4 separate regions of the Homo sapiens genome follow, and all the other regions are linked to region 1. The links are contacts of gene promoters, found by promoter capture Hi-C in blood cells and fetal thymus (Javierre and others, 2016). All regions are on one chromosome and are shown on one strand. Each heading gives the region's core, a stretch centred on a gene start or on the middle of the fragment in contact. The rest is flanking DNA. Distances are from core to core; before and after follow the strand shown. Region 1 holds the start of MAGEH1 (MAGE family member H1). Region 2 overlaps HUWE1 (HECT, UBA and WWE domain containing E3 ubiquitin protein ligase 1). Region 3 overlaps NBDY (negative regulator of P-body association). Region 4 overlaps NBDY (negative regulator of P-body association).

What was found. Contacts are between HindIII fragments. The CHiCAGO score rates a contact against its expected background, and 5 or more counts as called.
Region 2: a fragment that was not itself captured here is called in contact with the fragment with the promoter of MAGEH1 in region 1 in 1 of 17 cell types (fetal thymus); the score reaches 7.4 in fetal thymus.
Region 3: a fragment that was not itself captured here is called in contact with the fragment with the promoter of MAGEH1 in region 1 in 1 of 17 cell types (fetal thymus); the score reaches 6.3 in fetal thymus.
Region 4: a contact is called between a fragment that was not itself captured here and the fragment with the promoter of MAGEH1 in region 1, in 1 of 17 cell types (fetal thymus). The highest score is 9.9, in fetal thymus.

What each region holds. Positions count from the first base shown.
Region 1 is chrX:55,447,524-55,455,443 of GRCh38, forward strand. MAGEH1 (MAGE family member H1) reads left to right here and starts at 4,604. Exons shown (of 1, transcript NM_014061.5): 1 at 4,604-6,043. The coding sequence starts at 4,852. The coding sequence ends at 5,511. MIR4536-2 (microRNA 4536-2) reads left to right here and starts at 3,972; the gene lies at 3,972-4,059. It overlaps MIR4536-1 (microRNA 4536-1), which reads right to left and starts at 4,059; the gene lies at 3,972-4,059. RefSeq lists enhancers at 4,817-4,866, 5,017-5,066. The HindIII fragment of the contact is 1,343 bases long and covers 3,485-4,827 here.
Region 2 is chrX:53,678,310-53,686,229 of GRCh38, forward strand. HUWE1 (HECT, UBA and WWE domain containing E3 ubiquitin protein ligase 1) reads right to left here. Exons shown (of 84, transcript NM_031407.7): 3 at 1,740-1,877. Among named protein-coding and RNA genes, the nearest start is that of HUWE1, 4.4 kb to the right of the region's middle. RefSeq lists an enhancer at 7,754-7,833. The HindIII fragment of the contact is 1,705 bases long and covers 4,883-6,587 here.
Region 3 is chrX:56,795,925-56,803,844 of GRCh38, forward strand. All of the region lies in intron 2 of NBDY (negative regulator of P-body association), which reads left to right. Among named protein-coding and RNA genes, the nearest start is that of NBDY, 71 kb to the left of the region's middle. RefSeq lists enhancers at 4,950-5,019, 7,519-7,658. The HindIII fragment of the contact is 4,293 bases long and covers 926-5,218 here.
Region 4 is chrX:56,761,277-56,769,196 of GRCh38, forward strand. All of the region lies in intron 2 of NBDY (negative regulator of P-body association), which reads left to right. Among named protein-coding and RNA genes, the nearest start is that of NBDY, 36 kb to the left of the region's middle. RefSeq lists enhancers at 2,331-2,380, 2,401-2,520, 2,484-2,985, 2,981-3,340, 5,824-6,053 and 1 more. The HindIII fragment of the contact is 2,994 bases long and covers 1,187-4,180 here.

The DNA.
Region 1 (7,920 bases), core at 3,354-5,853:
CCAAAATCTCCTTAAGCTGATAAACAACTTCAGCATAGTCTCAGGTTACAAAATCAATTTGCAACAATCACAAGCATTTCTATACACCAACAACAGACAAACAGAGAGCCAAATTATGAGTGAACTCCCATTCACAATTGCTACAAAGAGAATAAAATACCTAGAAATCCAACTTACAAGGGAAGTGAAGGACCTCTTCAAGGAGAACTGTAAACCACTGCTCAATGAAATAAAAGAGGATACAAACAAATGGAAGAACATTCCATGCTCATGGGTAGGAAGAATCAATATCGTGAAAATGGCCATACTGCCCAAGGTAATTTATAGATTCAGTGCCATCCCCATCAAGCTACCAATGACTTTCTTCACAGAATTGGAAAAAACTACTTTAAAGTTCATATGGAACCAAAAAAGACCCCACATTGCCAAGACAATCCTAAGCAAAAAGAACAAAGCTGGAGGCATCATGCTACCTGACTTTATAGTACAAGGCTACAGTAACCAAAACAGCATGGTACTGGTACCAAAACAGAGATACAGTCCAGTGGAACAGAACAGAGCCCTCAGAAATAATACCACAAATCTACAACCATCTGATCTTTGACAAACCTGACAAAAACAAGTAATGGGGAAAGCATTCCCTATTTAATATATGGTGCTGGGAAAACTGGCTAGCCATATGTAGAAAGCTGAAACTGGATCCCTTCATTACACCTTATACAAAAATTAATTCAAGATGGGTGAAAGACTTAAATGTTAGACCTGAAACCATAAAAATCCTAGAAGAAAACCTAGGCATTACCATTCAGGACATAGGCATGGGCAAGGACTTCATGACTAAAACATCAAAAGCAATGGCAACAAAAGCCAAAATAGACAAATGGATCTAATTAAACTAAAGATCTTATGCACAGCAAAACAAACTACCATCAGAGTGAACAGGCAACCTACAGAATGGGAGAAAATTTTTACTATCTACCCATCTGACAAAGGGCTAATATCAAGAATCTACAAAGAACTTAAACAAATTTTCAACAAAACAAACAACCCCATCAAAAAGTGGGCAAGGGATATGAACAGACACTTCTCAAAAGAAGACATTTATGCAGCCAACAGACACATGAAAAAATGCTCATCATCACTGGTTATCAGAGAAATGCAAATCAAAACCACAATGAGATACCATCTCACACCAGTTAGAATGGCAATCATTAAAAAGTCAGGAAACAACAGATGCTGGAGAGGATGTGGAGAAATAAGAAAGCTTTTACACTGCTGGTGGGAGTGTAAATTAGTTCAACCATTGTGGAAGACAGTGTGGCAATTCCTCAAGGATCTAGAACTAGAAATACCATTTGACCCAGTGATCCCATTACTGGGTGTATACCCAAAGGATTATAAATCATTCTACTATAAAGACACATGCACACATATGTTTATTGTGGCACTGTTCACAATAGCAAGGACTTGGAACCAACCCAACTGTCTATCAATGATAGACTGGGTTAAGAAAATGTGACACATATACACCATGGAATACTATACAGCCATAAAAAAGGATGATTTCATGTCGTTTGTAGGGACATGGATGAAGCTAGAAACCAACATTCTGAGCAAACTATCACAAGGACAGAAAACCAAACACTGTATGTTCTCCCTCATAGGTGGGAATTGAACAATGAGAACACTTGGACACAGGGAGGGGAACATCACACCCTGGGGCCTGTCGTGGGGTGGAGGGTAGGGGGAGGGATAGCATTAGGAGAAATACCCAATGTAAATGACGAGTTAATGGGTGCAGCAAATCAACATGGCACATGTATACCTATGTAACAAAGTTGCACGTTGTGCACATGTACCCTAGAACTTAAAGTATAATAATAATAGAAAAAGAAAATTAAATAAGTTGGAAATACAGTACGCCCAGCCAACAGGCAGACACTTGAAGAGATTATGGTAAATCCATTGCAAGGAATAACATTCAGCCACTAGAATGAAAGAATTAGAGGTATAAATTGAGGAGATTTCATTATTAATTAGGAAAAAGGTTTGCCTGGAAATTCAATATGGAATGGTTTGATTTTTATAAATGAAACAAAGTGGAAAGCCATGTGTTCTATCTAAACATATACATGCCAACACATCAGCAACCCTACTCGTTGATGTTGATCCTAGAGAAATGCATGCACATGTTCATAGGGAACATGCGCACAAATATTAATAAGAGTATTATTTTGTTTTGGAAAAATGGGAACTGCATAGGCGTGGATCATTAGGAACAGGATAAATTGAAAATGATGAAATGTACAAAATTAAAATAAATGAACTAGAGTTCCATGTATTTACATGGGTAAACATAAAAAATATAAAGTTGAGCTGGAAAACCAAAGTGTTGATCAATGTATACATTATGAAGACGTGCTTTAAATAAAGGAAGAGATTCTATATTGTGTACAGACACAGAAGTAGGTAGCAAATATATACAAGTCTCCATGGGCATAATTGCTGACTTCATTATAGAGGAGCACAGTGGGGAAGGAGAGAGCAGAGTGGGTCAGGGAAGACGTAATAGGAGGGTTTTGCCATATCCAATATATAAAAGATAAACAGTAAGTAGGGCCTAATATTTAAATTTTATACAGCTAGCTATTGGTGTTTATAATATTAATCTCTCTTCTTTGCCCTACGTTTGAGATTAAGTCGCAGTAAAAAAAAATTCATGCTAAAAACAAGCAAATAAACTGCAAAAGTAATCCTCCCATTTTTGTTTCATGAGGGTAGGATTGTACATGCTATAGACTTCCATGCAAGACCCAAATTCCTGGAAACAGTAAAATAAGTTCATACCTGTACTGAAAAACAATTCAGAGCAATTATCAATGGACCAGAAACTGCGAGAATTCTCAGAATGTGGGACAGCAGATGGAGCCAGACTACTGTTTTGAGTAGGTCATGTCCCAGAACGCGTGCAAAGGTTATCCCAAACGGAGGGCTGGCTCAAGAGTGCTCTGTGTCCTGGAGAGGTGCTTTCTTTGCTTGACCAAATTGATTTATTGCTAACTTACCCAACAGGAGGTCTCGGTGGGCTCTAATTATAAAGAAAATTTCAGCAAGACAGGCATAAAGTATTCATTTGTTTCTTAAGAGTTCAGTTAAGAACACCTATAAAATCTTTTCCATCATGAATTCCTTCAGCACGCATTTATTAAATGCCACACTCACACACCGCTTGGAAAACCTTGAGAGGCAAAATCTGTGCTTACCATGTAATAAATGCTTTTCATTTTTTATCTCATTTAATTCTCACAACCCTATGAGGGCTGTACTTTAGCCCCACTTTATAGATGGGAAAACAGGCTTAGAGAGAAGTGACTTGCTTAAACTAATACCTTGAATGACATAAGAAAGATATAGAGTGCTAGTTATAGGGCTTTCCTCAATGGAGTAAAAATGGACTCATTACCCTTTTGGGCAGATCAAGACAAGCTTCAGGGAGAAACAGGTCTGTGAGCAGTCAAATGGAATTTAGATAGTTGGAGAAGGCTGAGAAGACAGGTCAGGCAGAGCAAACAGTGAGCAAAAGCAAGCAGTGGATAAAGTTCAGAGTATGCTCTGAAAGAAGCAAAATAAATCAGGAGTCCAGGAAGACTGGAGCCTAGAAACCTTGGAGCCAATCTGAACTCCATCATCCCCTCCACATTCCCCACTTCATCCATTCTGTCTGCAAAGCCCTTCAACGGTCACCTTTAAAATGTCTTTCTGCCTCTCCATCCCCATGGCAACAGCCTTAAGGCATACTTTAGTTCCCAGTGCTTCTTATTCCAATTGCTTCCTATGTGGTCTGCCAGGAAACAGTTTGCTTTTCTGAGAGGCTGCACAAATGCAATTCCTCTGATCCTGTCACTGCCCTGCTTTCATACATACATACATACATATATGTGTGGTAGATATATGCACTGTATATAAACATAATGTGGTAGATATATGCACGATATAGGTATGTATGTATGTATGTATAAAAGCAGGGCAGTATATATATCGTGCATATATCTACCACATTTTAAAGGCTCTGCACCTCTTTCACCCTGCTTGTTTCTGCAGTCCCATCTCCTCACATCATCCAGCACATCTGCCATAACAATATTATCCGGGTCCTACATGGGACCACAAATTGATTAGTATACACACAAATGCCTTCTGAAAACAGGGCGAGTGAATGAACGCGCTGTGTAAGCCAAGACAGGAAAGGAAGGCTGGAGACAGCTGACTCCTTCCAAGAATACACCCTCCCGCCACCCCTGGCCTCCCAACCCCCAACACACACACAGCCCGTCGTCAGTGGGAATGGAGCCGACGCACTCCTTCCCTAGACCGTCGAGCCAATCTTGGAATGTTTGTAGTAGGCTGAAAATACAGAAACTTTAAGCTATTTTTTTCTCTTCTGCAAACTCCAGGCCCCTCCAATCTCTAGCTGTCATTTCTGCCCTTGTCCCACCCCTGTCGCTGCCTGCCCCTTTTCCTATCTGCTAGCGGAAGTCCCTGTGGAGGACCAGCCTACTTCCTCTTTGGTGCTAGGAGTGTGCGTGGCAGGAGAGGCGGGGCCAATTTTGCTGAGCTTTCTCGCGGGCTTGCAGCTGCGGCAAGTGCTGGCGGCGGCTGCTCGCGCAAGTCAGCTGGCGTGGGAACTACCCTTTGTAGCTGAGAACGGCTTGTTTATTGCTACAAAGACTCTATTGACATTGGTAGCTTCAGCGGCAGCAGCTTCTTACGGTATAAAGCTGTTGCTTCCTGAAGAGGCTACAAGCATCCTTCCCTAGGACTGCTGTAAGCTTTGAGCCTCTAGCAGGAGACATGCCTCGGGGACGAAAGAGTCGGCGCCGCCGTAATGCGAGAGCCGCAGAAGAGAACCGCAACAATCGCAAAATCCAGGCCTCAGAGGCCTCCGAGACCCCTATGGCCGCCTCTGTGGTAGCGAGCACCCCCGAAGACGACCTGAGCGGCCCCGAGGAAGACCCGAGCACTCCAGAGGAGGCCTCTACCACCCCTGAAGAAGCCTCGAGCACTGCCCAAGCACAAAAGCCTTCAGTGCCCCGGAGCAATTTTCAGGGCACCAAGAAAAGTCTCCTGATGTCTATATTAGCGCTCATCTTCATCATGGGCAACAGCGCCAAGGAAGCTCTGGTCTGGAAAGTGCTGGGGAAGTTAGGAATGCAGCCTGGACGTCAGCACAGCATCTTTGGAGATCCGAAGAAGATCGTCACAGAAGAGTTTGTGCGCAGAGGGTACCTGATTTATAAACCGGTGCCCCGTAGCAGTCCGGTGGAGTATGAGTTCTTCTGGGGGCCCCGAGCACACGTGGAATCGAGCAAACTGAAAGTCATGCATTTTGTGGCAAGGGTTCGTAACCGATGCTCTAAAGACTGGCCTTGTAATTATGACTGGGATTCGGACGATGATGCAGAGGTTGAGGCTATCCTCAATTCAGGTGCTAGGGGTTATTCCGCCCCTTAAGTAGATCTGAGGCAGACCCTTGGGGGTGTAAAAGAGAGTCACAGGTACCCCAAGGAGTAGATGCCAGGGTCCTAAGTTGAAAATGATGTCGATTGGGGGCGGGGGACACTGTATTTGATATTTGTGATCAGTGATCATTGTTCAACTGCGAAATAGAGTGTTTGCTTTTGATAATGGAAAATTGTATTCGTTTTAAAATTCCGTTTGTTGAGAATAACAATATGTTTAAAAATATAATTGAACAAATTTTTTTCTTTGTTTCCTGTCATTGACATTTAGTATAACAGTTTTGCTAACGTTCTAAAATGAAGTCGTTCCATCATAATCTATGATCTTGTACAGCACTTATAGAAATAAGCTGTTCTTTTGAAGTTGAAATACCCAGTAAAATGTTGAAGAAGGATGGAGGATTTCTTCATATCTGACGTTTCTGAAACCCTTTGTGTCTGCTGTTGTGTGAAGATTGACATTTACCATGATTTTCCTTAGTTACTGCAGAACATAGAGAAAAATAAAAGCCTAACGAATAGTACATCTTGCGCATTTTCTGACCACCTGTTATGTGAGGCACCAGTCTAGATTCTAGGGATACTCCCTAGTACACATCCTCCAGGTCCAAAGAATGTTCTAGATTATGTGGGAAAGAAAAATAGGTAAACTGGCAGTGCAGTAAATGCTGGGATAGAGAACGAGCCTGAAGTGCCATGAAAATGTAAAAAACCTTATGTGACCTGTCTTGGGGAGTGGGCCGGGGAAGGGAGCACCATAGGATGTGTGAAAATTCAAGAGACACTTAAATAAGTTTGGGGGGGACTGAAATATACGATCAGAATATATGATGAAAATATTATGTATTAGATATTTGATTGGATACTCCACCCAGCATAGGGGAGGGAGCACTGGCAAAAAGAAGAGGACATCACAGGGTGCCTGCCACGGAAGTAGAAAATACACAAAAATCATCTTGAGAGGAGGAGGGCAGAGAGAAGGGGTGGTTGCAGGGGAAAAGGTTGTCATGGGGTACTTCAGAAATAAAAAAAGATGAGACCGTCAGAAAATCTTGGTGAGGGGACAATCTGAGGTTTGGAAATAATAGAGAAGAAGGGGAGGGAGTAAAAATGGAGGCACTGAAGGTAGCGTGGACATTTGGAAATAAACTCTTCACCGAACTGTTAAGGTTATATGAAGGGGAAAGTGGAGAACAAGGAATGAGGCAAGGGAAGAAGTGAGCGGGGCAGACCCTCAAAGGGTGGGTGTTGTGGCTGACTTTAAACTAATGACAATAAAAATGGTTAATAATAACAACCCTGAAATAATTCGAGAAAAGGCTATAAAAAAGCAGAACTTCTGAGATACTGGATGAGCCAGAGAAAAGGCTCCACCTGTGGCATCTCCGAAAGGTAACCTTGCACTTCTCTCAGGAACTATGGTTCGTTAGGGTGCACACATTGTTTAAAAGTGTGTGTGTCCAAGGGGGCAAAGGGGCAATGGAGTAAGTCCGGATTGGTACCTGGCACGATGGCCCATGCTATACTAAGTCATGTGGGATCAGGCGCAAATCCTACCACCTTTTCTCCAAGAGCTAAGCACTGCATGAACTAGGTCCCCTGCTGGGGAGCACTAGTGACAAGTGCCCAACCTAGCCCTGTGGGGCTCATGGTAGCAGCTATAACACACAAAAGAGTGGTCAGGCTACCTTCTTCCTTCTTGACATCCAGGCTCACGCTGCTTCCAGCTGTGTGCAAAGTAACGTCACTAGGTGCAGGGTAGGCTAGCAAATGACCTTCTGGAGAAGGCCCAGGGACCCACTCTCCTCAGCTTGCAGGCCAAGGAGGCTTCAAACAAAAGTAGTAACTATGACCCCATCAGCAGCTCCAAATTCATTCAGCAAGCCAGAAAATGGTGAGCGCCTTCTGGGATTCAGACAGTGTGTTAGAAACTGGAGCTGCAGAAAATCAAAAGGCCTGTTCTTTGCCCTGGGAGGAGCTGTATTTATCAATACCACCTCCAGAGGTAAACAAGGTGGGAATCTGAGGTCCAGGTTCCTCGGTGACTTTCTCTTCTAGAGCCACAGAAGTGGCAAGAGAGAGATCCTAGACAAGACCCTATGTCCATTCCCTGCAAACCCACAGTGCTTTCCTCTAGGCCACCCTGCTGCCGGTCTCTGCCTGCTAGTGCACTCTCAAGGTCTCTGTCCTCAAAAGAAACACCACGTGAAGGCAGGGGAAGAGGTGTGAGTAACCCTGGCCGCGGCATCCAATCCTTCTGGGGACCAGGCCGGATTACATTCCTCCCCCGACCCGCCCTTTTACCCAAGGGGGCTTACAGCAGTCAGTCAGCCCCAGGTCAGTCAGCTAGTAAGTGGGAGAGCTGCAGAGTAAAAAGATTTGTTGAGCACCTGCCTGTCCC
Region 2 (7,920 bases), core at 4,485-6,984, 1.8 Mb before region 1:
AACAAGTACATCAAGTTTTAACAACACCACCTATGAAACATCAAACGACTTAAAAGTTGAGTTATTCCTGACATTAACATATATAAACATCTAGTAACCAGTCGTTGAGGAAACAACGAATAATACAGCAAAACACCAAAAGCCCAAGTACTTATGAATATCAACCTTATAGATAGTGAGATCATCATAAAGCAGCCTAAAAGTCCTTAAAGGACTTTATGCTAAGGAAACATAAATTTCAGATGAAATGAAATGAAAAATCACAGTAGGAAAACTAAGGTTGTGTATAATAGCTGAAAATCAACATGTAAGTAGAAGCTCTCAAAAACTGTTTTAGTATTGCCATTTCAAGAACTGTATGACAGCCAGGAACTCATTATTAGGTCTTAATAGCTTAGAAGTTATGGGTCAGAACAGCTGAGACACTAACATCAAAAGAATAAAAAGCAACATTATAAAGTAGTATAAAAATAACTAAATCACCTAAGGAAATTGAAACCATGCATGAAAAACCCCAAAGGCACAATCAGGTCATTAGGAAACACTAGCTTCTTCCACCAGGAGGCCTACTTTTCATGTGGAGCAATGAGCAAGGCCAAGACATGGAACTGAAGTCAGGTATCAAATCAGACTTTGCCACAGAAAAAGGAATCCATGACTAGTTATTTTAGGATAGTGCCTATGACAGCACTATCAACTCCAACTAGGATACAGGAGATTATAGCCATTGTTCCATTATAATGGGTCCTCCAGGGTCTTTAATTGAGCAAGAATGGGTTAGACACCACTACTGGGCTGTAATCCCCAAATATGGGGGGCGGGAAACTATATATAGGACAATTTCTTCAACAAATAAATTGGAAGAAAAAAAAAACAAAAGACAGAACCTGCAGATTAAAATAGATTTAACAGCTGTATCAATGCTTTGCAATAAATGTGCTTTCTCAGGATCCTGATTCAAACAAACTGTAAAAGAAAAAAAACAAAGCTTAAAAAAAAATCAGAAATCTGAACATTTTATATTTGATATTTTTAAATATCTGTTAATTTTTTCAGTTGTGATAATAGTTTTGATCTTATATTTAAAGAGCCCTTGCCTTTTAGAAATACAAACAAGTATTTTACAAATAAATATGACAGGGATTTATTCCAATATAATCCATTGAGGGGGGCAGTGGTTAGAAGTATAGATGAAACAGGCTGGGCCTGGTGGCTCACGCCTGTAATCCCAACACTTTGGGAGGCCAAGAAGGGAGGATGGCTTGAGCCCAGGAGTTTGTGACCAGTCTAGGCAACACGATGAAACCCCATCTCAATTTAAAAAAATTAAAAAAAACCAAACAAACAGAAGTATAGATGAAATAGAATGTGCAAGTTGATACTATTAAAGCTGGTGATGGGTAAGTGGGGGGATTATTATACTATTCAATGTTTGCATGTTTGAAATTTTTCGTAACTTTAATAAGAACTGGTTAGACATAATGACTTGCAATTTTATTTTTTGAACGATGCCTAGGGTGATTTAAAAAATCATGTACAGACATCATTCATTTAAACAATTCCCTTTAATTCAGTAATGAGCTCCACTTTAAAAAAAGAAGCAACCAGTACCACATCAGATCCAGAGAATGGAAGAAACCAAAGTAGCTCCATTACAGAATGGGAATACATCCACCCCTACTATCTCCATTCCAGGAAGTAAAATACAAATACTTCCCACAAGATTTACAAAAACTAACCTAAAATCACAGCCAATCATACTCATCCTGGTGGGAAATTCCCCACACTGCTCCAACAGCTTCCCGAACCTTCCTGACCAAGTTGGCCTGCTGGTTTCTCTGGATCACTAACCCACTCAGGTCAGGCTGCTGGAGGACCTACAAAAAAAAAGTTGGGGGAGAGGAGTGAGATACACAACACATTTATTAGGGTGTGTGAGGAGGGTTAACCATTCTATTATGTTCAAACATAACTAGTTATTATTTCTAAAGCAATAGTCCTTACATATCTATTTGCATTTTTTAGGACCTGCTTTGAGAAGTAACTGAGGAATTCAGAACCAACAACTCTAATACTTCTAACGCTTAGACAACATTCCTGAAAACTGAGTTCTCAACCCAAATGAAATTATAGAAGACAGTTTATTTTTTAGACAAGTTTATACCCTCAATATAAACACTAAGGACGTATTTGTTTCATTGTTTCTGTGAAAAAAAACAACAACTGTACATATAAAAATTATTCTTCACCTTCATACATGCTTTTTGGCCATATTGGGAGACAAACGATAAACATCCTGGCAACTCAGGTTGAACTTTGCCATTGAACCTTAGACAAAGTTTTTATTTGGTATTGTCACTCCTTCCTCTCTTCTCAGAGATCTACCTAGAATAAGTTAAACTTTTAGGTCACACCTAGATTATCATTCCCAGATTTATTCTATTGCTCAATAAGGGTCAAATTGAAATTGAGGTTTAATAAATTTGTGATCACTGCTTAACCCACGGTAAAATGCACCAATGCAAAATCTCAAAACAGAAAGTGATTTCCTGCCCTCCAATGAAAATGGAAGAAAATTTTATTACCTACAAAGCACTTCAAATTAAATAAAGCAGTTTATTTCGAACTGAAGTTCGAAACTAGAGTCCACATACAGCTAATTGTGGGATGGTTACCTCCTGTAAATTTTAAATCCTAGTAAACTTTTCACCACGTTTCTACTTCAATTCCCATCACCCAGCCGAAGTAAAATAATGGGGATAGTTGTGCTTGTATTAAAGGGTTGTTGCTAGAATTAGTTAAAAAAAAAATTGTAAAATGCTACACTTTAATATTGGTCTAATCAATATATTAACAGTAAGGAAGCCTGTAATCTCAGCACTTTGGGAGGCCGAGGCGGGCGGATCACGAGGTCAGGAGATCGAGACCATCCTGGCCAACGTGGTGAAACTCCGTCTTTACTAAAAATACAAAAATTAGCTGGGCATGGTGGCGCGCGCCTGTAGTCCCAGCTACTCGGGAGGCTGAGGCAGGTAAATCGCTTGAACCCAGGAGGCGGAGGTTGCAGTGAGCCGAGATCGCGCCACTGCACTCCAGCCTGGCGAGAGCAAGACTCCATCTTAAAAAAAAAAAAAAAAAAGTAAGGAAAACTTTCTCCAAGTCAAATAGTCACATCTGTTTAATAAGTACGTTAGAAAATATAAAATGGCAATAACACAACAGGAAGTAGTGTATTAAAGAGCCAGCAGTAATTTGCTATGGAAAAGAAGCTGGGTATTCCAAATGATCTTTCTCTCTCGGACAGGAATTATCTTGCTCAGGTAAGAAGATGCCAAATAGCAGATCCCCACACTGATCTGAGGAACCAAACAAATGAGGGAGGTGAAAAGTAGCATGAATACTTCAAAACTAGCTAACAGAAGTTCCTTTTACCACTGTGAAATGCATGACACCAAATTACTTTTGTAGAGTGAATGACAGGACAGACTGCCTTTGAAGGAGTGGAAGAAATGAGTAGGCAGGGCATGAGGCACCCCTTCCAAAAGGTAGAACACTTGGGTGTGGTTCTTGACAGGAACATTATGGCTGGTGGTCATTCCAGGATAGTGATTACGCACTGAAATTCCTAGACCATTAGAAGGAAACAAAGAGTGGGAATCACGTTCAAACATCATGAACCACTGGAGATAAAAAGTTTGGCCTATGAGGAAAAAAAATATAAACGTTATAGATCTGGCCTAGAAATACACCAAGAATGTACAGTTAAAGAAACAAAAATCTCTTACTCTTTCCCAGGTCATAAAATTAGCATATGACACAGGTACATCTACCAATGCATTCTTACACCAAAAAGTAATCCTAATTTATTATGTGCCTACCATGAGCTAAACATTTTATTTTATTTTATTTTAACTAATTCTAGCAACAATCCTCTAATGTAAGCACAACTATTCCCATTATATAGATGAACTGAGAATCTGAAAATTTGCCCAAGGTCACAAGGTTCAATGTGAACCCAAAACACACCCAAAACACACACTATTAATTTCACCATACCAGACCGCCGCCTATGACTGGGGAATGTTGGTATCTCCTCAATCTATGCAACACTGGGGCTAAAAGAAAACAATGCTGAACATGTAATCTACAAAGGAGAAACAAATGATAGGGAATTAACTGCCTATAGTAACGGTGGCATGGGGGGAAGAGGAAATAAAGAACAGGGCAGACTGGGGGGCAGGACAATCAATGCTGTTTTCTAGTAAATGGAAGGGGTAAAATGTAGTGGAGCCTGAGAGGAGGGTTATCTTCCTTCTAAGGGATTCAGCTCCTGGAAAAGGAGTATGGGGAGTGGGGGATAGAAAGATTAAGAAGTGAGAAGCAGGTAAGAGGTGCTCAGCAGCAAAAATAGATGTCCACAGACCAAGAGGCTCCAGAAACTCAGAGCAAGGCAGGGAAAAGGGGCGGTTCCCAGGCTTGCAGGGGAAATGGAAGAGGCAGGGAAGACAGAAAGCGGGTTTACTGGAGAGTTATCCTCTACAGCCTTCTGAGGGGGAGGAATGAGGAAGGCAAGGCTAATGGCCGTAAACGAAAAGGCCACTTAAACTGCAATATCCAAACACCGACCCGTTCATAGTTTCGCTTAATAGTGGTTTAGCAGCATGCAGAGCTAAGAAATCCGGATCAGAGTCATACAAACATGAAGACTTGAGGAAATGGAAGGCTACTATGGCACCATCCACAAAGATGGAGTAAATGCAGGCAACAGGATAAGCTCTATTCAACGCCTGCGCCAAGGGGACCAATGGAAGGGGGAGACAGAGCGGGCTAGAGGACTTAGGCTAAACTCGAATTTAGAACTGGGGAAGGAGTCACAGGGAAAAGCTTTGACTCCCCCCTCCCTTAAATACCAGCCTCAACTATCCACGTAGATGAAGATTAGATGGGACGACAGAATTAGGAGGGGTGTGGGGAGAGGAGGAGGAGTACACCAGTGACACTACTGCTTGAACCCTAAGCCTTAGCTCTAAAACCGCGAGAGTTGGCGAAGATGACCCCACCTCGAGAAAAACCAGGGTATTCATCCGGGTCGTCGGAGGTGCTGAGAACGGAGGTTGGCCGGCAGAAAAGGTAGGGGAAAGGGGCCACTCTTCATTGGTTGCTCCTCTTTCCCACCGTTCAATTTAACCCCCAACCCCACTCCCCAGCGAACTCCAGACTCCCCTCCCACCCTTCCCAATCCGCCCACTGCGGCGGCGACAACGGAGGCGTTGACCGATCGGTGGGGCAAAGGCGGGCCCACACGCGGCCGAGGCCCAGGAAATGGTGTCGCCTCAACGGACAAGAAACGAGGTGGTCTTCGCCTCAGGTCTAGTTTACCGGCACCCCGGCGTTTCGCCAATCGTCACCTCCTTAACGCTGGGCACCTCAGAGGCGTCATAAAGGCAGATAGCCAACACCTCTGTGCTGGGTCCTGGCCGGACAGACATCAGCCTCCGCCGCCATCTTAACAGCAGGCGGACCGACCCTAGTCACTGCCCCCCCACCCCCCACCCGCGAGCTACCTCAGCCACCGCCAACGAATCCCACGAGGACGTAACCCTGCTCCCGCGAGAATTCTCCGGCTTAGAACGGCACGAGCCGAAGACCTTGCCGCCGCCTCCGCGGCTACTGCAGTCAGTAACCGAGCCACCGCCGCCTCCGCGCGATCCCGCGAGAACCTCTACCGGACGGGAAAAGCCTGAGCCCAGCCCTTTCCAGACCCCTCCTCCCTCCCACCAAAGCCGAAGTAGCTACAGCTTCACCCTACGCGAAGCGAAAAGCAAATGACGCACAACCTAACGAAGCAGTGAGGGGCGGAGCCAACCTACCACGGCCGGCTCCCGCATGCGTTGAGAACTATCGCGATATTACGCTTTAGCCTCGGCGAGACCTTCTTAATTCACCGCAGGATGCCGCCCGCGCCTCGCCTTTAGGAAACATGAGATATCGCGAGACCTGGTGCACACTCCTAAAAAGGAGAAAGGCGGAGCTTCATGAAAATGACTGGGAGTTTTTCGGGGGAAGGGAGGAACCCTCCCGTCCTGCAGGGATCTCGCCTACCACGAGGTTTCCGACCCACTGCGGAGCTGGCTGCCAAACCTCGCGATGACACAGCTCAGCGCCAAATCTCGGCCATGTCCTGAAAACTGCCTCCGCCCCCGATCTAGGTGTCTAGAGCCTAGTGCTTGAGGAAAATTTAAAAAGTCAACCTGTTTATTCTCACGCTTCCGGGCAAGGCTGTACCAATTAGCCAAACTCCATTCTGGAAGCGGAGCAAAGAGTCCCCCATTGTTACCTGTCTCCAGGAATAACATATTATCCTGGACTAACATTTAAAAGACGTTCAATCTCACAGTAAGCACACAAATGCAAATGAAAACAATGACATAACATTTTTTGCCCATTAGATAGGGAAAAAAATTTTTAAACCTACATTATCCAGACTCCTTCCCTCGCCGCACTGCAGGCTAACCTGAATCCATCTTAATCTAACTAAAGGCCATATCATTAGTTCTAGTTCCAAAGCCACCAATTTTAACTACTGAAGCTTTACCTTGGCATAACCAAAAAGATCCAATAAAGTGGTTTTCTCCAAACAAAGGAGTCTGCCCTCAAAGGAATATTCAAGCTTCGGGGATGGGGGGAAATGCCTGAAGCTTTTAATATGGCAGTTTTTCCACGTCTAGCCAACAGTGTTTCTCCAATAAATCTTGGGATCCAATCTGGCTTGATTTGTGGGCTTTTCCATTCTAATGCATTGTTCTGTCCGTTCTAATTTAAATAGTTCCTTTAGAGTACATTTTAATAGCCAGTAGTACAAATATCCCTATCTTTACTTACGTTTTAAAATATTTTTTTTCAGTTATTCTTAGCCATTTTTTTCCCCCGGATGAACTTTAGAATCATAGTAAGTTCCAAAAAAACTTGGTATATTTATTGAAATTGCATCAACTGTATAAACCAATATAGGAAAAATGGACATCACTAAAATATTGAGCCTTCTTATTCAGAAGCATAGTATTCCTTCTCTTTTCATGCAGATGTTCTTTTATGGTATTCGTCAATAAAGTTTTATAGTTTACTTCTAGGTATTTTTATTCGTTTCTCTTGCTATTGCGAACAGGTTTTTTATTATTAAAATTTCAAAATGCTTATTGCTTATAGATAGGAAAACTGCCTATATAAACTATTGATATTTGCCTATTTACAAACAAAAATATGATCAATTTCGCCAGTAATCAGGGAAATGCAAATGAAAACAATGACATACGATTTTTTTGCCCTTTAAATTGGCTAAAATTACAAAGATTGATAATACGTGTTGGCATAACTGTGGAAAAATAGGCACTCTCGCACAACATTAAAGAGTGTAAATTAGTACAGGCTTTTGGGAAGGCAATTTGGACAAATCTATCAAAATTCAAAATGCATATACACCCTGACCCAGCGGTTACTCTTCTAAGAATTTCTCCTACAGAAATACTCATACATGGCATGATACATATACACAAACCCATTCATTATGGCATTGCTTGTAATAGTCCCCTCCCTCCCCCAACAGAGAAACAAGCTAATGTATATCAATCGGGAAATGGTTAAATAAACTGTAGTACAATCATACAATGCAGCTGTTTAAAACCCAACATAAATTTGGATTCCCGGATATAAGAAGATCTACAAGACATATTCTCAGATTTTTAAACAAGCAGTTAGTCGAAATGAATGTGTGTGTGTGTGTAGTACCATTTAGATATCAAAACATATATATGCAACGCCTAGTAGTTACCCGCGAAGCCTGCCTGCCCGCCCCTCACCTTCCCTCTCCTCTGAGGCCGCCTTCCTCGAACCAGTGAGAAACGCTGAAGGCCCGGCCTCTAC
Region 3 (7,920 bases), core at 1,822-4,321, 1.3 Mb after region 1:
TTATGTCTCAACTTTTTCCTGTCTTCATCTGTGCTTGCATAGGTCCTCAGGCACATCCATGTATCCCCACCCATGCTCATAAGTGTCTGCCCAGACACCTTCATTCACACCTGTGTCTGGTCCTCTAGGCCGCTCTCAGTGGGCAGTTTTTCAGGTTTCCGGTTCCCTCTTCATCTTTCTTGTCCCTTTCTGTCTGACTTCCCAGTATTTGTTGGCATAATGTTCAGGATGGGGTTGGGGTGGGGGCAGCGGGGAGCAGGGCAGCCCCCTGGCCTAACAGGCCTCTGTGCGGATGTGGTGGAGATCTGGGATTATGGGACTGACTCTTTCTCCTGGCTGATGGCTCCCTCTCTGTGAGCCCACAGGAGGCCACTTGGGCTGCCAGCTGCCCACCTGGAGCACTCTGCATTCCAGTTCACTCTCAACTTCATTGCTCACTCTGATTCTTTGTGTAGTTTTGGAGGTTTTCTCCCTTCACTTTTTTCTTCTTTACTCTTTTTACTTTTCATTCACTTTTGTTTGGGGAGGTCAGGATCAGCCTGGAAGTCAGGGTCAACTGGGCTAGGGAACACCCTTAGGGAAAACAAACTTATTTTTCCTAAGGAAATTAGAAGGACCCCAGCTGATCCCTGCAAGGAGTGATTGGCATTTCCCTTTCCTTTCTGCCCTCTCTCCATATTGCCATTTGTGGCTGATTATCTCTTTTCCCTGATATATATTTCCTCCCCGTTTTTCATCTTCCTCTCTTTTTGGGGGTCCTTCCCTGCCTTGGCCTTGTAGGCTTGGGGCTCAGTGGTTCCTTGCAGTCTGCTGATGACATCCTCAGGGCACTGTTCAGCCTACACCTGTGTCTTCTGTAGCTCCTGCAGGACTATTTGTGGATCAAAGCTTTTGATCCCACTCAGGAAAGATCTCATTGACAAGAAGCTTCTCGGTTGTGTGTCCTTTAAGTGGGACATGACCGGTGGCTCCCTGCCACTCGTTGTGTATGTCATCACACATTCAGGTCCCCCTGAACTAGATCCTTCAGGAGAGCTACAGTGTCATGGACCTCCCACTTCCTATTCTTTTTCTCCTTCTGTTTCTTCTTCCTTTTCCTACTCCTGCTCCTCTTCTTTATTGTTCTTTTCCTCCTTTCCTCCTCCTCCTCCTCCAACTCCCTCTCCTTCTTCTTCTTTTTCTTTCCCTCTTCTTCTTTCTTCTTCTTCTTCCTCTTCTTCCCCTTCCCTCCTTCTCCTTCTTCTTCTTCCTCTTCCTCTTCTTCTCTCCTTCTTTCCTTTTCCTCCTCCTTCTCCTTCTTCTTTTCTTCTTTGACTTCTCTTTTTGCCTTCTTTTTCTTTCTCTCCTTCTTTTCTATTTCTCCTTCTACATCTTTTTTTCTACTTTTCTTCTCCTTCTTCTTCTACTTGTTCTTCTTTCTTTCCTTTTTTTTTCACTTTTGGATTTCTGCATGCAAATGTTCTAGCAGATTGCTTCTTCTTCTCCTTGGTGATGGGGAATGTCCTTCTGCAGCTCTAGGCCTCAAGAAATGCTTCACTTTTCTTCTTAAAAGAACAGCGATGAAGGTCACCAGTTCAGTCCTTCTTTTCCACCAAAAAGCTGTCCTCGTGTTACTTTTAAGTGAAATGTCATGGTAAACACACCCTGTACCTAGTACCTTATAGCCCACCATTCTTTCCTGTTCTCCTTGTGGACTCTCTAAATGTGTAAACCTGAGTCAGTAGGAGCCTCAGCAATTTGTTACATTGTTCCCCTATTGCCTTTCCTTCCAGTCAGGCCAGGTGAACAAAACGATACGGATTTCAGTGTGTACAGTCAGGCTGTCTCTGCCATGTGCCAATTTGCCCACTCTCACTCACACAAGCAGGAACTCACAGACCACAGACACAGAACACATGCACACACTCACAAGAAACCCCACAACCAGAAATGAAATTACAAAACCCATACACACATGGAGATACATGCAGATGCAGACACAAACACACATGCAGACACACACACGCAGGCACACTGACACATAAAGTCACACATACACAACCAGACCAATAAACAGGTAACCTCACATGGGCACAGGGGTTGGGGCTCAAGCATTCTCACACTTAGAGGTAAACAAACACACAAAGCCACAGGCATGAGACTGCCCACACTGTCTCATACGGGCTCTTAATCTCTGACAAGCAATGGGCTATGGGCAAGCATTCCTGGCTTCAGGCCTGGGTCCTCATGCCATTGATTGGGCAACTTGGCTTTCTCCCAAAAATGAATGCGGGCAATCTTTTATCAGAAAGGCCACAGCAGCAGATGTGAAACTGGAGCATCCTGGGTCAACCCGCTTAAAAACAGACTCCCCTTTCAGATAGAGGCAGAGAGAGTCCTGTTGGGATCCTTAGCCCTTTGTGATGTCATGGGAATCTGTGGCAACGTGGTGGCCTTTTTGAGTCCCCCTAAGCCACATCCTCCCACCCCTGCCTGTGTGAAAGCCAGGACAGCCTGTGCAGAGTCAGACTTGCACGAGTTGCTGAGTGTGCTTTCTAAGGGATACACCTGCCTCAGGTCCTGTGGCTCCCTGTTGAGCAGTCTGCCCGTTCTGGTGACCTCCATCTGCCAGCCCAAGGCGGTAAACTACCTAGAGCCTTTGGGAGGACTCCTAGTCCTGCAGTAAAACCTTGTGTAAGCCAGCTGAGTGACCAGCACCTTGTCTTGGAACGGCAGCCCTTTAATCCCAAGCCTCTTGTGTCCCAGTGCCCATGATTATCTGTCATTTGTCTTTTACTTTCTGCAGGAGCAGGAGACATGAAACCTGGAGAAGGCCAAAGAAGGGCAAAGACTGGCTGCCTAAACAGTATTCCTGCAGGGTCTCCAGCCTACTGGTCCTTGGTCATTGGGACCTGTGAGTTTTGGTGGTCAACCTGGGACCAGTTGGCTCGTTCCTTTCTCTCCCTCCTGTCTTTTTCTCGTTCTCCTTCCTATTTGCTTTTTTCACATTGGAAAAGGTGGAGGCCCTCAGGGTGGAGGAGCAGGGTTACAACTGTACTTGGCGTTTGTGGAGCCATAGTGCCATCAAGTGGAAATTGTTTCTGGAAATGGGAGGCACCTGAGCTCATGTGCTGAGGAACGCTCGGGAGTGCCAGACAGATGGTGGTGTGGAGCCCCCAGGCTGAAGCTGGGAGAGGAACTCCTGTCTGGCCCATGGTCTATGCTCATTCCCAGGATAGCGCCCTGGCTCCACAGCTCTCTTTGTAAGAATGGACAGGCAGGGGCGGCCCACCATGGGTTCCCCTGGCAGCCCCCAGAGACTGCTTGGCATGAGTTGCCCCACCCCAGCATCCCAAAACTTCTTTGTTCCCAGGGAGGATAGGGTGCCCCTGTCCCTGCGTGGCCCCAGCCAAGGGCACCCCTGAACTCTCCACAAAAGAGACCAGAGCAAATGGCCCCAGTCTCGGCAGTCAGTGAACAGTGGTTTCTCTTAAACCCATTTCAAGATGGGGAAGCTCCGCCCACTGGGCTGACTGGTCTTGGGGCTGCCAGACTGTTCTGTCCCCGGGCCTCTAGCTTAGCTGCTTCTTCATGGAGTTCCAATGGCAGGTACACTTCCTTAAGGGCTCTGAACCCCAGTGGGGGAAACCCTGGCTTGGGCCTAGTCTACCCAGCCTGGCACATCCTCGCTGATATCTGTGACTGGAAGAAGGCAAGTGTCCTTGTAGTCTGTTGTCAAGAAACACCTTCCGCCGGATGGCACTGTGACTCCACAAATGGCAATCACCCCTTTTCCTTCCTCCACTTTGCCTTTCTCTCCTTCCTTTTGCTGCCAACCAAACAAAACAAACACACACAAAAAAAACAAAGAAACAAAGAAACTGCCCAAGCAGCACCCACCTCATCTTCAACAGGGCTCCCCACCTATGTGGTTACTTTGGGGAAACTTGCAACAGTAGGAGTGATGTCTGCCTCTCCTACCCTCTGGATTCTTCTCTGGGCAGGGGGTCCCAGTAATCCAGAGGAGCCTATCCTCAAGAAATGCTATGCTTTTGCTGTGGATTTGTAGCACCGGGGGCAGTGTGAGGGGGTAAAGGGGGAGGGGTGTGTGGGTGTTTAGGCCTGTGTGTGGGCCGCTGCAGATTCTTCTATGAATCTGCACAGGTCTCCTCAGAAGGAGACTGGTGCCTGCCTAGGGAAAACATAGGAAGAAAAGAATGCAGGAAGATCTGGACTGTGTCCTTAGGGGTGGCAAGGTGACTTTGAGTGTCAGAAATCCTCATTTGTAATATTTAACTCCCATCTCATCTAACTTTTTTCCTGTCTTCATCTGTGCTTCTATATGTTCTCAGGCACATACATGCATCCCCACCAATACTCACTAAAAGGTGTCTGCCCAGGCACCTGTGCTCACACTCAGATCCCCACATCTAGGTAACTCTCAATGGGAAGGGTTCTTCAGCTTCCCGGTTTTCTCTTATTCATTTTTGTTCTCCCTTTCTGTCTGGCTTCCCAGTATTTGCTGGTGGAGTGTGTGGGATGGTGTGGGGGTGGGGGCAGTGTGGAGCAGCGCAGTCTCTTGGCTCCACTGGCCTCTGTGTGGACCCAGTACAAACCCTGGCCTAAGGGTCTGATGCTTTTCTCTGGTAGGTGACTCTTCTTGTACGAAGGCACAAGAGGCCATTTGGGCAGCCACCTTTCCACCTGGGATATCCTGCATTTCAGTTCACTCTCAACCTCATTGCTCACCCTGATTCTTTGTGTACTTTTGGAGTTTTTCTTCCTTCACTTTTTTCTTCTTCACTCTTTACTTTTCATCAATTTCTGGTTTAGGGAGTTCAGGATCAGCCTGCAAAAGCAGGGTCGGGTGGGCACAGGAATGTCCTTAGGGAGAGTAAGCCTACTTTTCCTAAGGAAATCAGAAGGACCCGGGCTGAACCCTGGGGGTGTAAGCAGCATCCCCCTCCCCTATCTGCCTTCTGTCAGTGTTGCCATAGGTGGCTCATTACCTCCTTTCTCTGGTATCCATTTCCTCCCCGTTTTACATCTCTCCTCCCACCCATTTCCGGGGTACTTCCCTACCCAGGCCTTGTAGATTAGAAGCCCGTGGCCCCTTGCAGTGCGCTGATGACATCTGGAGGGCATGGCTCAGCCTGCACCTCTGTCCTCTGTAGCTTCTCTAGGCCTACTTGTAGATCAAAGCCCTTGATACCACTCGGAAAAGAACCCATCAACAAGAAGCTTCTTGGTGTTGTGTCCTTTCACCGGGACATCACAGGTTTCTCTTTGCCTCTTGTTGTGTATGCCACCATGCAGTGAGGCACCCCTGAACTAGGTCCTTCAGGACAGCTGCTGTGGCGTGAAGCTGCCACTTCTTGTTCTTATTGTCTTTCTGGTTCTTCTTCCTCTTCCTCCTCCTCCTCTTTTTTCTTTTTCTTTTTCTTCTACTCCTTCTCCTTCTCCTTCTCATTTTTCTCTTCTTTCTTCTCTTTTTCCTTTCACTTTTGGCTCTTGGCGGGTCAAGCATTATACTGAGACTGCTTCTTCCTCTGCTCCTGGTGATGCAGGATGCCCCTTTGCAGAACAAAAGTGAGAAAGGCCTCATTTGTTCTTAAAGGAGCAGATATGAAGGTCACCAGTTCAGTCCCTCTGGTGTTCCACAAAGGCGCCAATGTGTTACTTTTCATGAAATGTCACCATGAACCCACCCCTTAACCTGTTCCTCATGGCTCACCATTCTTTCCCATTCTCTTTGTGGATGCTCTAAATGTGTAATCCTGAGCCAGCAGGAGCCTTGGCAAGTTGTCCCCCTTTGTCTTTTCTTTCAATCCAGCCATGTGAACACAACGATCCAGATTTCAGTGTGTATAGGCAGGCTGTCTCTCCCACGTGCCCATTTGCCCACTCTCACTCACACAGGCAGGCACCCAGAGACCACAGACACAGACACAACCACATGGACTCACAGGGAAACCCCGACAACCACAAATATAATCACAAACACACATGCACAGGGAGATACACACACAGACACAAAGACATACACTAACACATGCACACTCACAAACTCATAGACACACACACACACACACACACACACACACACACACACAAATCCTCACACAGGCCCAGGGGTGCGGGCTCAAGCATTCACCCACACAGACGCACACACACATGTGTCGCCATAGCCACCAGACTGCCCACGAACTCTCCCATAAAGGCTCTCAGTCGGCCACAGGCAATGGGCTATGGGTGAGGATTCCTGGCTCCAGGCCTGGGTCATTATGCTGTTGATTGGGCACCTAAGGCCTTCTCCTGAGAATGAATGCGGGAAGTCTGTTATCAGATAAGCCCCAGCAGCCAGTGTGAAACTGGAGCCTCCTGGGTCAACCTGCTTAAAAAGGGACCACACCTTGGGTAGAGGCAGACAGTCCCCTTGGGACCCTTGGCCCTCTGTGATGCCATGGGAATCTGTGTTGCGTGGTGGCCTTCCCCAGTTCCCCTAAGCCACCCTCATGTCACCCCTCCCCCCCACCCCATGTGAAAGCCAGGACAGCCTGCACAGAGTCAGACTTCAGTCAGTTGCTGAGTATCCCCTCTGAGGGAGATTCCTGCCACACGCCCTGTGACTGCCTGTTGAGCTGTTCGCTCATTTTGGTGACCTCCATGTGCCAGCCCAAGGTGGTAAACTCTATCTGGAGCTCCAGGCTTTGGGAGAACCACCAGTCCTGCAGCAAAACCTTGGGTAATTCAGCTGGGTGACCAGCACCTTGTCCTGGGGCGGCAGCCCCATGATCCCAGTCTTCCTGTGGTTTCCCAGTGGCCATGATTATGTATCATTTGTCTTCTATTTTTCTGCATGAGCATGAGCCATGAAACCTGGAGAGGGCCAAAGGAAAAGCAAAGGCTGGCGGCATAAAGAGGATTTCCGCAGTGTCTCCTGCCTACTGGTCCTAGGTCGTAGGGTCCCTTAAGTTTGGTGGTCAACCTGAGACCAGGTGGCTGGCTCCTTTTTATCCTCCCTGTCTTTTTTTTGTTTCTCTTTCCCTTTTCTTTTTTTCACATTGGAAAGGGTGGAGGCCGTCGGATTGGAGGGGCAGGGTTAAGCTTGTAGTTGGCCTTTGTAGAGCCATAGTGCCATCGAGCGGAATCTGTTTCTGGAAACTGGAGGCAGCTGGGCATGAGTGCTGGAGAAATCCCAGGAGCACGAAAGAGATGGTGGCGGTGTGGGGCCCCCAGGCTGAAGCTGGACGAGAGAGGAACTCCTGGCTGGCCCTTTGCCCTTGCTCATTACCAGGATGGCACCCGGGCTCCACAGCCCTCTCCGAAAAAAGGGCAGGAAGGGGCGGCCCTCCATGGGTTCCCCTGGCCATCTCCAGGAATTGCCGGGCAGGAGTCGTCCCGCCCACAGCACCCCACAGCTCCTTGGTTCACTGGGAGGATAGGGGACCTCTGGCCCCAGCGTGATTCCAGGCAAGGGCACCCCAGAACTCCCCACAAAAGAGACCAGTGTAAACGACCCCAGTCTCGGCCGTCAGTAGTCAGTGGCTTCCCTTAAGCCCACCTCAAGATGGCTGCCAGGGCACCTCCGCACTCTGGACTGACTGGTCTTGGGGCTGCCTGGCTGCTCTGTCCCTGGGCCTCTAGATTAGCTGCTTCTCCGTGGGGTCCAAATGGCAGGCACACTTCCTTCAAAGGTTTAAAACCGCGATGGGGGAAACTCTGGCTTAGTCAGAGTCCACCCAGCCCGACATATTCTCGCTGAAGTCTGTGCCTGTCAGAAGGCAAGTATCCCTGCAGCCGGTCGTGTTCAGAAACAACTGCCGCTGGATGGCAGTGTGGCTCCAGAAATGGCAGTCACTTATTTCCCTTGCTTTTCTCTTTCTCCTTTTGCTTCCAACAAAACAAAACAAAACAAAAAGAAAAGAAAGAAAGAAAGAA
Region 4 (7,920 bases), core at 1,434-3,933, 1.3 Mb after region 1:
ACTCTCAGAGGGCAGGGTTCTTCAGCTTCCCGGTTCCATCTTGTTCATCTTCCTCATCCCTTGTTGTCTGGCTGCCCAATATTTGCTGGCGGAGGGTGCGGGATGTGTTGGGGGTGGAGACAGCAGGGAGCAGGGCAGCCTCCTGGCCCAACAGGCCTCTGTGCACATGCAGTGCAGACCTGGGCATAAGGGGCTGACACTTTCTCCTGGCTGGTTGGTGGCTCTTCCTCTGTGAAGCCACAGAAGGTCACTCGGGTTGCCACCTGTCCATCTGGGACATTCTGCATTCTTGTTCGCTGTCATCCTCATTGCTCACGTTGATTCTTAGTATACTTTTGGAGTTTTTCTTCCTTCACTTTTTTCTTCTTCACTGTCTTTACTTCTCGTCCACTTCTGGTTTGGGGAGGTCAGGATTCGCCTGGAAGGCAGGGTCCGGTTGGCAAGCGAACATATTTAGGGAGAACACGCCTTCTTTTCCTCAGGAAATTAGAAAGACCTCAGTTGACTCCTGCCAGATGTAATCGGGGTGCCCCTCTCCTTTCTGCCCTCTCTCCCTAGTGCCATAGGTGGCTGATTACCTCCTTTCCCTGGTGTCCTTTTCCTCTCCGTTTTTCCTCTCTCCTCCCATTTCTGGGGTCCTACCCTTCATTGGCCTTGTAGACTAGGGGCTCGTGGCCCCTTGCGGTTTGCAGATGACATCCAGAGGGTATGGTTTAGCCTGCATCTTTGTCCTCTGTAGCCCCTGCAGACCTATTTGTGGATCAAAGCTTTTGATCCGACTCACAAGGGATCCCATCAACAAGAAGCTTCTTGGTGGTGTGTCCTTTCACTGGGATGTCACTGTTGTCTCTTTGTCACTCGTTATGTATGTCACCACGCATTGAGGCACCCATGAACTCTATCCTTCAGGACAGCTGAGGTGGCATGAAGCTGCCATTTCTTGTTCTTTTTCTCCATCTGGTTCTTCTTCCTCTTCCTCCTCTTCCTCTTTCTTTCTCTTTTCTTTTCTTTTCTTTCTTTCTTTCCACCTCCTCCTCCTTTTTCTTCTTCTTTTCTTCCCTCCTCCTCCTCCTCCTCTCTCTTTTCCTTTCACTTTCAGATCTTGGCGAGACAAATGTTCTATGGAGACTGCTTCTTCTGCTCCTTGGTAATGGGGGATGTCCCTCTGCGTGCTAGGCAAGGAGAAAGCTTCACTTTTGTTCTGAAAGGAGCAGAGATGAAGGTCACATGTTCAGTTCCTCTGGTCCTCTAAAAAACCACCCATGTGTTACTTTTAAGTGAAATGTCATTCTGAATGCACTTCCTACCAGTACCTCACGATTCATCCTTCTACCTTGTTCTCCTTGAAGACGATCTAATAATGTAATCTTGGCCAGTAGGAGCCTCAGCAAGTTTTCCCCCATTTCCTCTCCTTCCAGTCAAGCCATGTGAACACAACTATCCGGATTTCAGTGTATACAGGCAGGCTGTCTCTGCCATGTGCCAGTTTACCCACTCTCACACAGGAAGGCACCCACAAACCATAGACACAGATACACATACACACACTCACTAGGGACCTCAGAAATGAAATCACAAACACACCCGCACACAGAGACACATGCAGACACACACAAACACACACATAGACACACAAACAAGAAACCTCACAGGGGCACAGGGGTGCAGGCCCAAGCATTCTCCCACACAGACACATACACACCACCACAGGCACGAGACTGCCTACAATTTCTCCCACACAGGTTCTAAATGTGCAAAGGGAACAGGAGACAGGGGAGAATTCCTGACTCCAGGCCTGGGCCATCATGCCATTGATTGATGGGCAACTCTCGCCTTCTCCTGAGAATCAATGTGGGAAGTCTGTTAACAGATAGGATCCAGCAGCTGGTGTAAAACTGGAGCATCCTGGGTCAAGCTGCTTAAAAAGGAACCTCACTTTGTGTTAGAGACAGAGAGAGTTCCCTTGGGAGCCTTGGCCCTGTGTGATGCCATAAGAATCTGTGGTGTGTGGTGGCATTCCCCAGCACCCCTGAGCCACCCTCCTCCCACCCCCATCTGTGTGAAACCCAGGACAGCCTGAGCAGAGTCAGACTTGAGCAAGTTGCTGAGTGTCCTCTCTGAGAGATACTCCTGCTTCAGGCCCTGTGGTTTCCAGTTGAGCAGTCCACCTATTTTGATGACCTCCATGTGTCAGCCCAAGGCGGTAAACTCTACCTGGAGCTCCAGGCTTTCGTAGGACCCCCAGTCCTGCAGCAGAACCTTGTGTAAGCCAGCTGGGTGACCAGCACCTTGTCCTGGGGCAGTAGCCCTATGATCCTAGTCCTCCTGTGGTGTCCCAGTAATGATCATGTTTTTTGTTGTTTACTTTCTGCACGGGCAAGAGCCATGAAACCTGCAGAGAGCCAAAGGAAGGGCAAAGGCTGGCTCCCTAAACAGGATTCCCACAGGATCTCCAGCCTACTGGTCCTGGTCCTTGGTCACACGGTCCCATGAGTTTGGTGATCAATCTGGGACCAGGTGACTGATTCCTTTCACTCCTCTGTCTTTTTTTTTGTTTCTCTTTCCTCTTTACCTTTTTTCACATGGGAAAAGGCGGAGGCCCTGGAGTTGAAGTGGCAGGGTTACAGTTGTAGTTGGCGTTTGTGGAGCCATACTGCCATCAAGCGGAAACTGTATCTAGAAACCGGAGGCAGCTGGGCACAAGTGCTGGGGAAACCCCACGAGCGCAAAAGAGATGGCGGCATGGAGCCCCCAGGCTGAAGCAGGACAAGAGAGGAACTCCAAGCTGGCCCTTGGCCTGTGCTCATTCCCAGGATGCCTCCCTGGTTCCACAGCTCTCTCCGAAAAAAAGGGCAGGTAGGGGCGACCCACCATGGGTTCCCCTGGTCATCTCCAGGTACTGCTGGTCCTGGGTTGCCACGTCTCCAGTATCCCGAAGCTCCTTTGTTCCCCGGGAGGATCGGGGCCCCCTTGCCAACACGTGGCTCCAGCCAAGGGAACCCCGGAACTCCCCACAAAAGACACCAGAGTAAACGGCCCCCGTCTCGGCCAGTGGCTTCGTTTATGTCCATCTCAACATGGCTGCCGGGCCAGCTCCGCCCTCTGGGCTGACTGGTCTTGGGGCTGCCTGGCTGTTCTGTCCTGGGGCCTCTAGAGTAGTTGCTTCTCCAAAGCGTCCCAATGCCAGGTACACTTCCTTCAAGGGCTCAGAACCCCGGTGGGGGAAACCCAGGCTTAGACATAGTCTAAGCACATCCTCGCTGATCTCTGTTCCTGGCAGAAGGCAGGTGTCCGTGCATCCTGTTGTGTTCAGAAACAACTTCCACTAGATGGCAATGTGGCTCCACAAACAGCAGTCTTGTCTTTCCCTTCCCCCATTTTCTTTCCCTCTTTCTGTTTTTGGTGCCAAAAACCAAAACAAACACCAAAAAAAAAAAAAAAAAAAAGAAACTGGCCTAGGAGCACCCATCTCACCTACAGCAGGGCTTCCCATCTATGTGGTCACTTTGGGGGAACCGGCAACAGTAGGATGGGGTAGGGGTGGGGGCCACAGGGAGCAGGGCAGCTTCCTGGCCCAACAGGCCTCTGTGCCCACGCGGTGCAGACCCGGGCTTGAGGGGCTGATGCTTTCTCCTGGCTGGTGGCTCTTCCTCTGTGAGGCCACAAGAGGCCACTCATAGTGCTGCCAGCTGTCCATCTGAGGCACTTTGCATTGCAGTTCGCTGTCAATCTCATTGCTCACTGATTCTTTGTGTACTTTTGGAGTTTTTCTCCCTTCACTTTTTTCTTCTTCATTCTCTTTACTTTTTCTCCACTTCTGCTCCAGGAGCAGACTGGAAGGCAGGGTCAGCTGGGCGCGGGGACACCGTTAGGGAAAACAGGCTTACTTTTCCTAAGGAAATTAGTAGGACTCTAGCTGACCCCTGCGAGGAGAAATTGGCGTTTCCCTCTCCTTTCTGCCCTGTCTCCATATTGCAGTGGGTGGCTGATTATCTCTTTTCCCTGGTGTCCAATTCCTCCCCGTTTTTCATCTTATTCTTTTTTGGGCGGTCCTTCCCTGCCTTGGCCTTGTAGCCTTGGGGCTTGGTAGCCCCTTGCAGTCAGCTGATGACATCTTCAGGGCAAGGTTCAGCCAGCACCTGTGTTCTCTGTAGCTTCTGCAGGCCTACTTGTGGATCAAAGCTTTTGATCTTACTCAGGAAATACCCCATCAACAAGACGCTTCCTGGTTGTGTGTCCTTTAAGCCGGATGTCAGAAGTGGCTCCGTGCCCCTCGTTGTATGTCACCACGCGTTGAGGCCCTCCTAAACTAGATCCTTCGGGACAGCTACAGTGGCATGGACCTCTCACTTCCTGTTCTCCTTCTGATTCTTCTTCCTCTTCCTCCTCCTACCCCTCTTCTTTAATTCTTCTCCTTCTCCTCCTTCTCCTCTTGCTCCTCCTCCTCCAACTCCTTCTTATCTTCCTACTCCTCCTTTTTCTTTTTCTTCTTTTTCCTCCTTCTACTCCTCCTCCCCCTCCCCCTGCACTTCCTTCTCCTTTGCCTCTTTTTCTTTTTTTGCTTTTGCTTCTGCTTCTGATTCTGCTTCTGTTTTTCCTTTCACTTGCGGATCTGGGTGGGCACGTGTTCTAGCAGACTGCTTCTTCTTTTGCTCCTTGGTGATGTGGGATGTCCCTCTGCAGAATTAGGCCTGGAGAAAGCTTCACATTCGTTCTTTAAGGAGCACAGATGAAGGTCATGAGTTTAGTCCCTCTGGTCCACCAAAAGGCTACCCACGTGTTACTTTTAAGTGAAATGTCATGGTGAACGCACCCTTTACCCAATACCTCATGGCTCATTGTTATTTCCCATTCTCCTTCTGGATGCTGTAAGTGTAATCCTGAGCCAGTAGGAGCCTTGGCAAGTTGTTTCCTAACTCCTTTTTTTCCAGTCAAGCCATGTGAACACATCAATCTGAATTTCAGTGTGTGCAGGCAGGGTGTCTCTGCCACGTGTTCATTTGCTCACATTTCAGTGTGTGCAGGCAGGGTGTCTCTGCCACGTGTTCATTTGCCCACTCTCACTCACACAGGGAGGCACACACAGACACACATGCAGGCACTTACAAGAGACCCCCAGAAGAAGAAATAAAATCACAAACACACACACAGAGATACATGCACACCCAGACAAAAACACGCTTACACATACCCACACAAACACACACATACACACACATAAAGTAAGCTCACAAAATCAAAGGGGTAGGGGCCCAAGCATTATGGGACACAAACACACATCGCCACAGGCATGCGACTGCCCACATTCTCTTCGACAGGGGTTCGAAATATGCAAAGGGGAAAGGGAGACAGAGGAGCATTCCTGCCTCCAGGCCTGAGTCATTATGCCATTTATTGGGCAACTAGGGCCTTCTCCTGAGAATGAATTCGGGAAGTCTGTTATCAGATAGGCTCAAGCAGCAGGCATGAAACTGGAGCATCCTGGGTCAAGCTGCTTAAAAAGGGCCCCCAAGCCTTGTCCCTGTGTGATGCCATGAGAAGCTGTGGTACTTGGTGGCCTTCCCCAGCCTCTCTGAGCCACCCTCCTCCCAACCCTACCTCTGTGAAAGCCGAGACAGCCTGAGCAGAGTCAGTCTTGAGTGAGTTGCTGAATGTCCCCGCTGAGGGAGACTCCTGCCTCAGGCCCTGTGGCTGCCTGTTGAGCTGTCTATCCGTTCTTCGGACCTCCATGTGCCATCCCAAGGTGGTAAACTCTAACTGCAACTCCAGGCTTTGGGAGGACCCCCAATTCTCCAGCAAAACCTTGTGTAAGCCAGCTGGGTGGCCACTGCCTTGTACTTGGGCGGCAGCCCTGTGATCCCAGTCCTTCTGCCGTTTTCCAGTAGCCATGATTATACGTCCTTTCTCTTTTACTTTCTACACCAGCGAAAGCGATGAAACCTGGAGAGGTCCAAAGGAAAGTCAAAGGCTTGCTGCCTCCACAGCGTTCCGACAAGGTCTCCAGCCTACTGATCCTTGATCCTAGGGTCCCCTTAAGAGGTGAAAGTCTGATGGCAGCCCTGGCAGCCCTCGCTCGCTCTCGGCGCCCCCTCGGCATTGGCGTCCACTCTGGCCGCCCTTGAGGAGCCCCTCAGCCCGCCGCTACACTGTGGGAGCCCCTGTCTCCACTGGCCAAGGTCGGAGCCGGCTCCCTCAGCTTGCGGGGAGGTGTGGAGGGAGAGCCGCGGGCGGTAACACGAGCTACTCGCCGCGCTTGCGGGCCACCGGGAGTTGCCGGTCGGCATGAGCTCGGCGGGCCCCGCACTCCGAGCAGCCAGTTGGACCTGCCTGCCCAGGGCAGTGAGGGGCTTAGCAACTGGGCCAGCAGCTACTGTGCTCCACTTCTCGCCTATCTCTTCTCCTTAACTTTCTTTTATAATTATGTTTTCTCCTTCCTCTTTGCTTTTTTCACACGAGAAAGGGCGGAGGCCCTCGGATTGGAGGGGCAGGGTTGTGGTTGTACTTGGCATTTGTGGTGCCATACTGCCATCAAGCGGAAACCGTTTCTGGAAACCGGAGGCTGTAGGGCACAAGTACTGGGGAAAGGCCAGGAGCCCAAAAGGGAGGGTGGTGTGGGACCCCAGACTGAAGCGAGACGAGAGAGGAACTCCTCGCTGGCCCTTGGCCTGGGCTCATTCCCAGGATGGCGCCCTGGCTCCGCAGCTGTATGTAAGAACGGGCAGGCGGGGCGGCCCGCCATGGCTTCCCCTGGCAGTCTCCAGGAACTGCCAGGCATGGGTCGCCCCACACTCAGCACTCCGAAACTTTTTTATTTCCCGGCAAGATAGAGGCTTTCTGGCCCCACTGTGGCCCCAGCCAAGGGCATCGCGGAGCTGCCCACAAAAGCGACCAGAGTAAACGGCCCCGTTCTCTGGCTGTCAGTGGCCAGTGGCTTCCCTTATGCGTATCTCAAAATGGCTGCCGGGGCAGCTGCACCCTGTGGGCTGACTGGTCTTCGGGATGCCTGGCTGATCTGTCTCGGGGCCTCTAGAGTAGCTGCTTCTCCAAGGGGTCCCAATGGCAGGTCCGCTTTGTTCTAGGGCTCTACGCCCGGGTCGGGGAAACCCTGGCTTAGGCAGAGTCCACCCCGCCCCGCCCATCCTCACTCTTCTCGGTGCCTGGCAGAAGGCAAGTGTCCCTGTCCCTGCAGCCTGTTGTCATGTCCAGAATCACCTTCCGCTGGATGGCACTGTGGCTCCGCCAATGGCGGTCACGTCTTTTCCTTCCCCCACCTTGCCTTTATCTTTCTCCATCTGCTGCCGACAGAATAAAACAAACGCCAAAAACAAAAAAAGCCAAGAAACAACGAAAGATACCGGCCAAGGAGCACCCACCTCACCTACAGCAGGGCTCTCCACCTAGGTGGTCACTTTGGGGAAGCCTGCAACGGTAGGAGGGTTCTCTGCCTCCCTCCTTCCCTCTGGATTCTTCTCCGGGCAGGGTTCCCAGTGAACCAGAGAACGTCAAGAAATTCCACCCTTAGGGCTGTGGCTCGGTGGGGGTAGGTCGCACTGGGGGCAGTGTGAGGGGGTACAGGGGGAGGGATATGTGGGTGTGTGGGTCTGCATGCGGGCCGCTGCAGATTCCTCTAGGAATCTGCGCAGGCCGCCTGAGCAAGAGACCAGGCTGCATGCCTGTGCGCACCACACTTGTCCCTAGGTAGCACTCTTCCTCTTGGGGAAGGGATCAAAGTTGGATGGAAAGCAGCCAGGTCCAGCAGGCATCCGCACCTTGTTGAGCCATGGAGCTGCAGGGAGTCGGGCCGGATGTTTCTTGGGATGATGGGACTGGACGGGACGGACTCCTGTCTGAGGCCTTCAGCTCCCTCCCTCTCTGGAGCCCAGGCACTCGTCTGTGCACAGTGGTGGGAGGAGCATGCCG